3 separate regions of the Homo sapiens genome follow, and all the other regions are linked to region 1. The links are contacts of gene promoters, found by promoter capture Hi-C in blood cells and fetal thymus (Javierre and others, 2016). All regions are on one chromosome and are shown on one strand. Each heading gives the region's core, a stretch centred on a gene start or on the middle of the fragment in contact. The rest is flanking DNA. Distances are from core to core; before and after follow the strand shown.

Region 1 (3,009 bases), core at 269-2,768:
TTTCACAGGCATGGGGTGTGTTTTAGAGGTTTGAAATCAGGTCATTTCCTAAAGAAACATGTTGTTGTACAGGGAATGTAAGAGCTATAAAGGGCTTTGAAGGTATCAGGATGTCTCCAAGGGACAAGGTAGAGAGACCCTTATCCATCTCATACCAGAAAGAGTTCTGAATAAATTACGTGGAAAGTCCAGAACACAGTAATATCTTCATAATGAGTTAGTTGAACCATTTCTTACAGAGTAGATTACCAGGTGTATCCAACAAATCAAGAAGTTAACCCGTGGAAAATTGAAGGGACTTTTTATGTTTGCCTATGAGCTGTCTGGGGAAATGGAGGAGAGGCAGGGAATACTTTCCATAGCTTGACCTGCTCTTAAGTTCCTGGACATACCTTCCCCTTTTTAAAGTATGATTTAAAGGCAACAATCCATCTCCCCCGGACTCCCATACAAACCTCTTTTGGCAGCCAAATGGTCTTCATCGAGCACACACTTTTCAAAGAATTAAGGACGTGTGAGTAGGTTTAGTTTAGACCCTGCCTTCCCTCTCCCCACAACCCAGTAACATGCTGAAAATAAGTAATAACCTTCCTGGGTACCCCCAGAAAAACCTGTTTGCAGAAACTACAACCTTTCCTCCGAAAAAAACCCCTATCTTCTTAAGGAAGAATCTCAGTGTGGTGGTCTGCAGTTCACTGCAGGCATTTCCCTCCTCACCATTTACCAGTCATCAGTTACGCTGCATCTGAAATTGGTTTTTGTAGACTTTCATTTAGACCGGCTCCACCGGTGCCCAACTGCTTAAAAAAAAAAATAGCCCCTGAACCAATCTCTGGATTCCTCCAGCAGGCTCAAAGCGTTCAATTTCGCTGCAACTCTGGGGTGAAAACCGCCAGGTCCAGCCGGCAGAGCAACCTCCCGGGCAGCACGGAGGCTCCGTCCCCGGCGAGGCCGCCGGCACCTAGGCAGGAGGGCTCTTCGCACAGCTGCGCTAGGAATTCGGCTCCGCTCGCGGCCGCAGGATTAGTTCGAGTCCCTCGGGCTGGCCAAAGTGACACTACATTTCTTCTTCTTCGTTTCCCCATGTGACAGGTCCCCCTGCATTAAAGCCACCTCCTCCTCGGCCCCAGCCCAGGTCCAGCGCTCCTGACGCCCGCGCCCCATCACCCGCACCCTCCACCTGGGGAGGGGGTTCATGCCAGCAACCCTCCAGGCGGGAAACAAAGGCGGAGGCAGGGCTGCCAGGTGGGCAACTCCCCTCGGGCAGACCCGTCACGCAGTGGGGAGGATGGGAAGGTGCCTGAGAGGATAGGAAAAGGGAAACCAAGGCAACCGGGGCTGCATCCTCCCTGAAGCTGGGCTCCCGGGGCAAGCTGACCCCACACCTCCCCGAGCCCCGCCCAGCCCAGCCTAACCCGCTTGCCGGGACCCAGCATGGGAAGGACTGGGGGGACGCCCCGGAGCGCCGCTTACCTCGGGAGAAGCGCTCCGGCTCCCTCCGACGGCTCAGGAGAAAGCCCCACCGCTCGCGCACGCGCTCTCGCGCACTCGCGCCTTCGCCCCTCGGGCCCCCGCGCGCGCCCCTCCGACCAGGCTCTGGCCCGCCCCGGCCTTGTCCGTCAGCGTCCGCGACAGCCAATCCGGTCGCACGGAAGGCTCAGCGCCGGTCACGTGGTGAGACCAGCCAATCACCAAATTGCCCTCGGCAGCGCCCGCTCCGATGTCTCTGGGGGTTCGGTTGCTACCTAGCAGAGCGGGTGCGAGGCGGGCACAAAGGGTCTCTGTTTTCGGGGGCTAAGTGGCACTCAGTTGATCAATTACCAGATCAATTGACTTCTCAAATTCTAATATAAATAAGAATCACTTGACTCTCTTGTTAAAATGCGGATTCTGATCCAGAAGGTCTGGGGTGGAGACCTGAGATCCTGCATTTCTAATAAGCTCCCAGGTGGCGATGACGAAGCTCTTGGTCGGAGGATCACGCTTTGAATTGCACCTGTCCGAAAGTAATGGCTGTAGCCCCAGCTCCACGTAATTTGAAACTTGCACGACCTTTCTTGTCCTTCTTCCACTGATGAGAAGCGTTCCTGTGGCTACATGGGGTGTCCCGGTGATGCTTACAGTTTGGGCACCAGCTGAGGGAAGGTGTGTTTAATCCCCACATTACCCACCCTTGGTCTATGGAGCAGCAATCATGCCAACTTGGTGACTGGAGTGTGGAACCAGAAGTGGAGACGGAATGGCCATGGAAGAGAACACTGTGTCTACGTTAATCCTAAAGGGTTGGGCGTGTGTGTCTGAGTGGCGCGGTGCCAGACACTTGGCCAGAGAAGTGGTATAAGTGGTCCCTGCTTCTCAAAACGTAACAATTTGTTGTAGAACTATACAGGCTAGTTCAGAAAGAAGCATGTGGAGAAAACATCCGGGAAGCTAACAGTCACAGCACAAATTCAGGCATAAGCTAAAGAGGTTGTAAAATAATATGCCTTGAGGGTCTTAAAAACTGTCCAAATATTCTTCTGTCAGTAATTCCAGAGTCTAGAAGTTAGGACTCCCACTGGCCCTGTCATTTCTCAAATTTGACCTAAGGACTCAGTGTTTTCGGACTGGCCAGCTAGAACCTTTGTCGTTCAGCGTAGCCAAGCTCTTATTACCCAGTAGTGTACCGCCGTGGTTCAAGATTCTTAAGTGCTGAATTCTCCAAAACCTTCATCTCTCATCTCTTGAAACCAGGTGGTATAACCCTGCTTCAGCATTTCTCTCTCACTATCAAGGTGATCAAACTGTCGCTTAGAGAAAACTTCACCTTTGTCAGTGTGTCCTGAACTTCTCTGGCTTCTCATCCCCAGAAGTGAAGCCCACCTAGCAATCTCAGACATTGTTCATCACATTGTCCCTATCAGAGATGGCATCGCACAAAATTCAGAGTTTCTGGGAACATGTTAAACCTGTCACAGCAATGGTTCTGGCTACAGCAGGAGTAAAGAAATGTCTAAGCAAGAAAAATGT
Region 2 (3,009 bases), core at 166-2,665, 270 kb after region 1:
TGGCCTGACTGCCTTGAACTGGGACATCAGGTCTTTCTTGTCTTCAAACTCTGAAACATTGGCTCTTTCTGGATCCCAAGCCTGCTAGCATTTGGACTGGAACTACCCCATTGGCCCTCCTGTATTTCCAGCTTGTTGACTGCAAATCTTGGGACTTGTCATTGCCCGCCTCCATAATGGCATGAGACAGTTCTTAAAATAAATCTGTATGTAAGTCTCTTCATTGGTTCTGTTTCTCTGGAGAACCTTGACTAATCAAGAGTCCCAGGTGAAGCAGGGAGAGACCCAGTACATGGAGTGTGGTTCCCAGGTCATCCTCTCTGGGACAGACATGCATTCTCTGGCCCAGAGCAATGACAGGGTCTCTAAAGAGATTGGTAGATTACTTGATACAGTAGGGAGACTTGGGGTTATAAATCATCTCCATTTTATGCCCAGATCATTATAAGATTTAAACGAAATTGTCCAGGAAGCCAGGCCTTATAAATCCATAGATTCTACTTTAGTTTTCCATAAGCAATTCTAATCCAGGGTCATTCCTGCTAAAATGGACTCTCCTCCTAGCAAATCTCATTAGTTTATTTTCCAGAAGGTCAATTATAAGCATGTTTATAAGAAGATTACATTCAGCCATTTGCTTTCTTTGCTCCCAGGAGTATCCTCCTGGTACAAGGAGAGAAAAGCATCACAAGCCAGCTGCTTAATTCACTGCTTCCCCAGGATTGAAATCCAAGTGATACACCACAGACCACAGTCTAACTCCACCACATGCTAGTTCTCAGAATCTCAAACCATTGGTGGCTCCTCATGAGGAAACTGGCAAGCCCCTCAGAGAAGAGCCATCCCAAGGGTGAGGTAATTTGGGCCACAATGCTGGGAAAGAATTTAGGAAAGAACATTGGTGGGGGAGGAGGGGAGCTTGTGCTACATAAACAAAGAAATGAAATAGTAGAGTCCATTTATTGAAGGCTCACTAACATAAACTTAGAAGGGAATGTTACCTTTGTTTTACTCTTGTAGATCTGAGGCCCAGGGAGGTTGAGTAACTTGCTCAAGGTTCCACAATGAGTAAAAGGCAAAGCCAAGAGTTAAACCCAAAATAGTCTGAGGCCCAATCTCAACTCCAAACTGCCCGTTGCCCCTTTTTATACTACACTTTATGATGCTGGACCTGGAACTTTGCAAGCTGCATTTTGGTTTCCCAGCTGTTGGACTCTACCAGTGGGGACACTGGAGGAAGATAGCAAGGCTGGTGGAAGGAGAAAGGATGTGCTTTTGCCTGTTTGCCTCTTCTTCCTGTTAGTGTCACCCAGCAATGTCTCTTCACCCCAGCATTAGCAGCTTCTTTCTATAGCAGCAGCAGAATCCAATTTGCAGTCTCTCTGACACTTGAGAAACTACCTCATTGCCCCTTCAGAGACACCAGCACCAGCCAGCCTGGGCCTCCTCGTCAGGGGTGTGGGTCTCAGGCCCCAAGACCAGACTCTGAGTTTCTAAGTTTTAATTATTCTAACCTCTCCCCTCTGTTCCCCAACCTTCATGAAGGTAGCTGCATCCCGCAGTAGCTACATCCCTGACTCCTCTGTGTTCTCTTTTGTGCTTTTTCAATTACATAGTTCACAGTAGTTGAAGTGACTGGTGTGGTGTCTGTCTTCTGACCCTGACTGATACCTGTCTTCCTCTCCCATCCATTTTTGCTCTCTACTCCCAACCCACATTCTTCAAAACAAAGCAAGTGGGACCATTCCTCTCCTTTACACATGTCCTTCTCAGGGAAACTTGAATTTTATTTGGGGTGTGGAGTCTTAGGAAGGAAACTGAAGTTTATTGAGCTAGTGCTCTCTGGGCCTCTTTGGTCAAGCTCAAGACTTTGAGTATTCTTAGTTTGATATGTATTTTCACCAGCTTTATTGAGATATAATTCATGGAAAATAAACTGCATCTCTTCAAAAGGTACAGTTTAATGCATTTTGACATGTATACACCTGGGAAACAACTGAGGCAATCAAAATACAGAGCATTTTTATCACCCCCCGACATACAATTCTCTCAAGCCTTTTTTCAGTTCCCCCCTCCCTCCTCCTTGGACCCCAGGCAACCAGTCACTGATCTGCTTCCTGTCACTATAAATTACTTGACATTTTCTTAACTTTACGTAAATGGAATCATATAGTGTGTCATCTTTTATGTCTGGCTTTTTTCACTTAGCATAATGATTTTGTGATTCATTTATGCTGCCACATTTTCAAAGTTTAGTCCTTTTTCTTGCTAAGTAATAGTTCTTTGTACAGATGTACAATAGTTTGCTTATCCATTCACTTGCTGACTCACATTTGGGTAATTTCTAGTTTGGGGTTATTATGGCTAGAGGCTGAATACTTATGTATAAATCTTTGGATAGTAAATACCATCCAAAGACAAGTTATTTTTAAGTTTAGGTGTAACATACATACAGTAAATTATGTTTAAAAAAAAGTATGTAGATTGACAATTTCTCACACTCATATATCCCTGTGTAACACCACCCAGATTAAGACTTAAAACATTTTCAGTATCAAAAAAGGCCCCTCTGTGCCCCATTCTAGACAGCAGAGGTCACCACTATTCTGACATCTGTCTGCATTGATTACTTTTGCCTTTTTCGAACATCATATAATGGATTATAGAGTATGTGTGCACACTGTTGTGTCGGGTTTCTCTTGATCAACGTATGTCTATGAGATTCATTAGTGTTGTTATACATAGGTATAGCTTATTCTTATTGCAGTGTGGTGTTATATTGTGTGGATATACCACATTTATTTATCCATTCTGTTGATAGATATAAGGATTATTTCCAATTTTTTCTGCTATAAATATAGCTACTGTGGACATTCTTGTACATGTCTTTAGTGAACATATGTTCTCATTTTTTTCAAACTAGGGATGGGATTGTTGGGTCATAGGATAGACTTATGCTTAGCTTTCCAAAGTGGTTGTATCAATTTATACACCTACCACCAATGTAAG
Region 3 (3,009 bases), core at 214-2,713, 260 kb before region 1:
TTACACGCTCTGTGAACATCAGCCTCTAAAACAGAGATGCCTCTTATGTCTCAAAACAAAGTAGAACTTGTGTGTGTGTGTGTGTGTGTGTGTGTGTGTGTGTGTGTGTGTGTGTGTGTGTGTGTGTGTACTGGGGTCTGTATTAATTGTATTTTTTTTTTCTTTATTCTTACGCTGTGGCATCTGAGACCTTCTGCATCTGGGTAGGGGTTGACCCTTCCAGGGTTAGATAATTCCTAGAGATAGTAAACTTGTCTGCAAGCACACCTTTGATGTGCAAATCCACCAAACCAGAGTTCATATACCTCCCACCCCCCATCTCCTTTAATCAGTCTCTTGCAGTCCAGGACACTATCCCTCAGCCCTAATCACTCCAGGGCTAGGTACCTGGCAACCAGGGACAATCCCTATAGCCCAGAGCCCACTAAAATCATTCAAACTAAACCTGTCTACCATGGTTACCCTGCCTTACCCATTTCTTTTTATAAAAACCACAAAAAGGCTCTCTGCGTCCTCATTAAACCTGGTGCTTCCCCATGTGGCACTGCATGGTGTGCAGTACCTCCTCTTTCCAGGGATCTTTCTGAGTATAAACTTCTTCCTTCATGACAGTCATTTCCACGTCTGCAACTCTTACCACATCTGATGAAAACAAATCCCAGCTACATGTTTAAAAAGAGGTCCCTTACCCAGTTGCCGCCAAAGTAAAAAAACAGGGGTGGGGTGATAAACCTAATTCATCTGAACACATCCTCAATTCCCCTCTTTGTCTGGGACTCTTGCTGCAGGACTGGCTGTAGGTTGCCAGGCAACACCATCAGGTATCCTGCATACTGCCTACGGACATTAATCCGTCTCTTTCAGGTCTTATTTACTTACTCATTTTACATTCTTAAATGTGGTCAGGACCACCACCCACCCCCCCATACCAGCCACAGGGTATTCTTGCTTATTTAAACAAACATTTTGGAGGCTTTCAATGCTTGATAAATGATACAGTGAGCTATGGAGTAAGGGAAGGTGTGGACCAATGAAGTAGTCTACCGATTCTAACTATGCCATTAACACACTTCATTGAGGCCTCTTTGGCTCACTGCAATTTACCTGAACACTTAGGGGTAGAAATCAGCTGTTTCTATTTCTTCTTACTCTGACATTCCACTTTTCTCCACTCTGATTTTCAGATTTATCACTTCTATGTGATAGGAAGACTGTTTTAATAAAATGTGCTAATGGGATATGGTAATTACATTTATAATTGGGAAGAATGGGGAACAGATGTATGATTGTTAAAACTGGGATGGTCCAGGAGAAGAACGTCCCTCTGCCAGAAGAGTGTGTGTGTGTTGGGTTGAAGACGTATGATGGCCTGGCTCTCCCAAATGGAAATTGTCTTCAGTTTTTGATATTATGATATCATTCTAAGCAAAGAAGAACAGTGGGCCTGTGCCATATATGAGAAAACATAAAGAAATGCCCTGTGAGATATCAGGACCTGTGACAATTTTGGCCCAACATCAGCTGGAAAACCTTAAGCATGATGAGGGCATAATCTTCATGAGCTCCTCTGCTCCAAGTCATCTTCTATATAAACGTACTGCAGAAGGGAAAACCTATGCTTGCCATGCAAACACGGCTTCACAACAAGTCCCCTTAGCACCTCCTTCCAAAGGGACTGCCAACTCCAACCCCGTCTATACAGAAATTCTAGAGAACACGGCTTGACCTCCAAACCAAACTTCTGTCTACAGGATGTCAAAACATCAAGGTTGAAGGAGAAAGACTAAGCTCAACTGTTGGTTAATCTATCTGCCACTAAAGAGCTATTCTGTTTTTATTTCCCTACTGAAATAAATAAAAACAGTTTTTCTTATTTGAAGAGTGGCTTTACGGCTGCCAAGTCAACCAGGAGACAGTAATTGAGCACTAGCTGGCTGCAAGGTATCATCCAACATCTGAAGCCTTCATTTTCACTAAACTGTGAGCTTTATATAGTTTCCCCTTATTGTTCCTAGATTACACTGGCCATGAATCAAGCACTAACAAACTCATGAAAAAGTGTTCCTTCTCCCCACAGTTCAGATTTCCCCAATGGGAATTCATGTAAGACTGTCACCCCTGTCTGTCAGCTCAAAACAGCAAGTGTGGCAGGCAGATCTCTTGGAAAACCTATCCTAAACAAATAATCCAGAAGAATAAAATGCCACAGGCAGCCGATGGTCTTTGTAGTTTTTTATAATTATAAAAAACTATAAGCAGTTTAAATATTAAACAGTAGAAAGGTGGTTAAATAAAATGCCAGCATAGCATAGTGGTTATGAGCACAGCTGAGCACACGCCCATCTCTGTCACTCACAACTCTGTGTCCTTGGGCAGGTAGCCTAACCTCTCAGCCTTGGTTTCCTCACCTGTAACATGGGCATAATATGGTTGAGTGTGAAACGAATTTATAAATATTATGAGAATGAACTGCATTAATATTTATTATAATATTTATGTACCTGATACACAGGAAGCACTATGCAAGCATTTGATAAACAAAGTGGTACCTGTTCTAGAAGAAGAATTTTACAGCTTTTACAAATGATTATCAAGAAACAAGAAAAAAGTCCCATAAAATCACAAGCACTCTAGGTAAAATACGAATATGAAAATTCACCAGGGGACTAGATGAAATAAACATAGTTGTATTGGGTTGAGAGGATCTTCTGCTTTCCAGACATTCTGTATTGCTTTTGTAAGTCAAAGAAGTTTTGAGGAGGCTTGGAGAGGGTTAGAAGAGGAAGGCGCTGGAAGAAACATTCTTCTTGGGCCTCTGATTGAAACAAATCACTTGGTCCTTCTGGCAGAGCTGGGAGGGTTGTCTGCTCTACCCAGAGAGTTAATAGAATCCTACTAATAAAAACTATCTTCAAAGAGAAAGACAGATGAAGAGAGAGGTTTCATCAGCCAGAAGCCAGGAAGACAGTCTAAAGTCAGTGGGGCTGCCACCTCCTTGCTACCTGCTCC

What was found. The method cuts DNA at HindIII sites, captures the fragments that hold promoters and counts their contacts. A CHiCAGO score of 5 or more calls a contact.
Region 2: a contact is called between a fragment that was not itself captured here and the fragment with the promoter of TMEM108 in region 1, in 1 of 17 cell types (megakaryocytes). The highest score is 6.9, in megakaryocytes.
Region 3: a fragment that was not itself captured here is called in contact with the fragment with the promoter of TMEM108 in region 1 in 1 of 17 cell types (megakaryocytes); the score reaches 6.4 in megakaryocytes.

What each region holds. Positions count from the first base shown.
Region 1 is chr3:133,036,900-133,039,908 of GRCh38, reverse strand. TMEM108 (transmembrane protein 108) reads right to left here and starts at 1,518. Exons shown (of 6, transcript NM_023943.4): 1 at 1,474-1,518. RefSeq lists an enhancer at 1,530-1,824. The HindIII fragment of the contact is 5,754 bases long and covers 1-3,009 here.
Region 2 is chr3:132,770,244-132,773,252 of GRCh38, reverse strand. All of the region lies in intron 3 of NPHP3-AS1 (NPHP3 antisense RNA 1), which reads right to left. Among named protein-coding and RNA genes, the nearest start is that of NPHP3-ACAD11, 49 kb to the right of the region's middle. The HindIII fragment of the contact is 5,583 bases long and covers 1-3,009 here.
Region 3 is chr3:133,298,096-133,301,104 of GRCh38, reverse strand. The region is part of intron 3 of TMEM108 (transmembrane protein 108); the gene reads right to left. Among named protein-coding and RNA genes, the nearest start is that of TMEM108-AS1, 42 kb to the right of the region's middle. The HindIII fragment of the contact is 4,368 bases long and covers 1-3,009 here.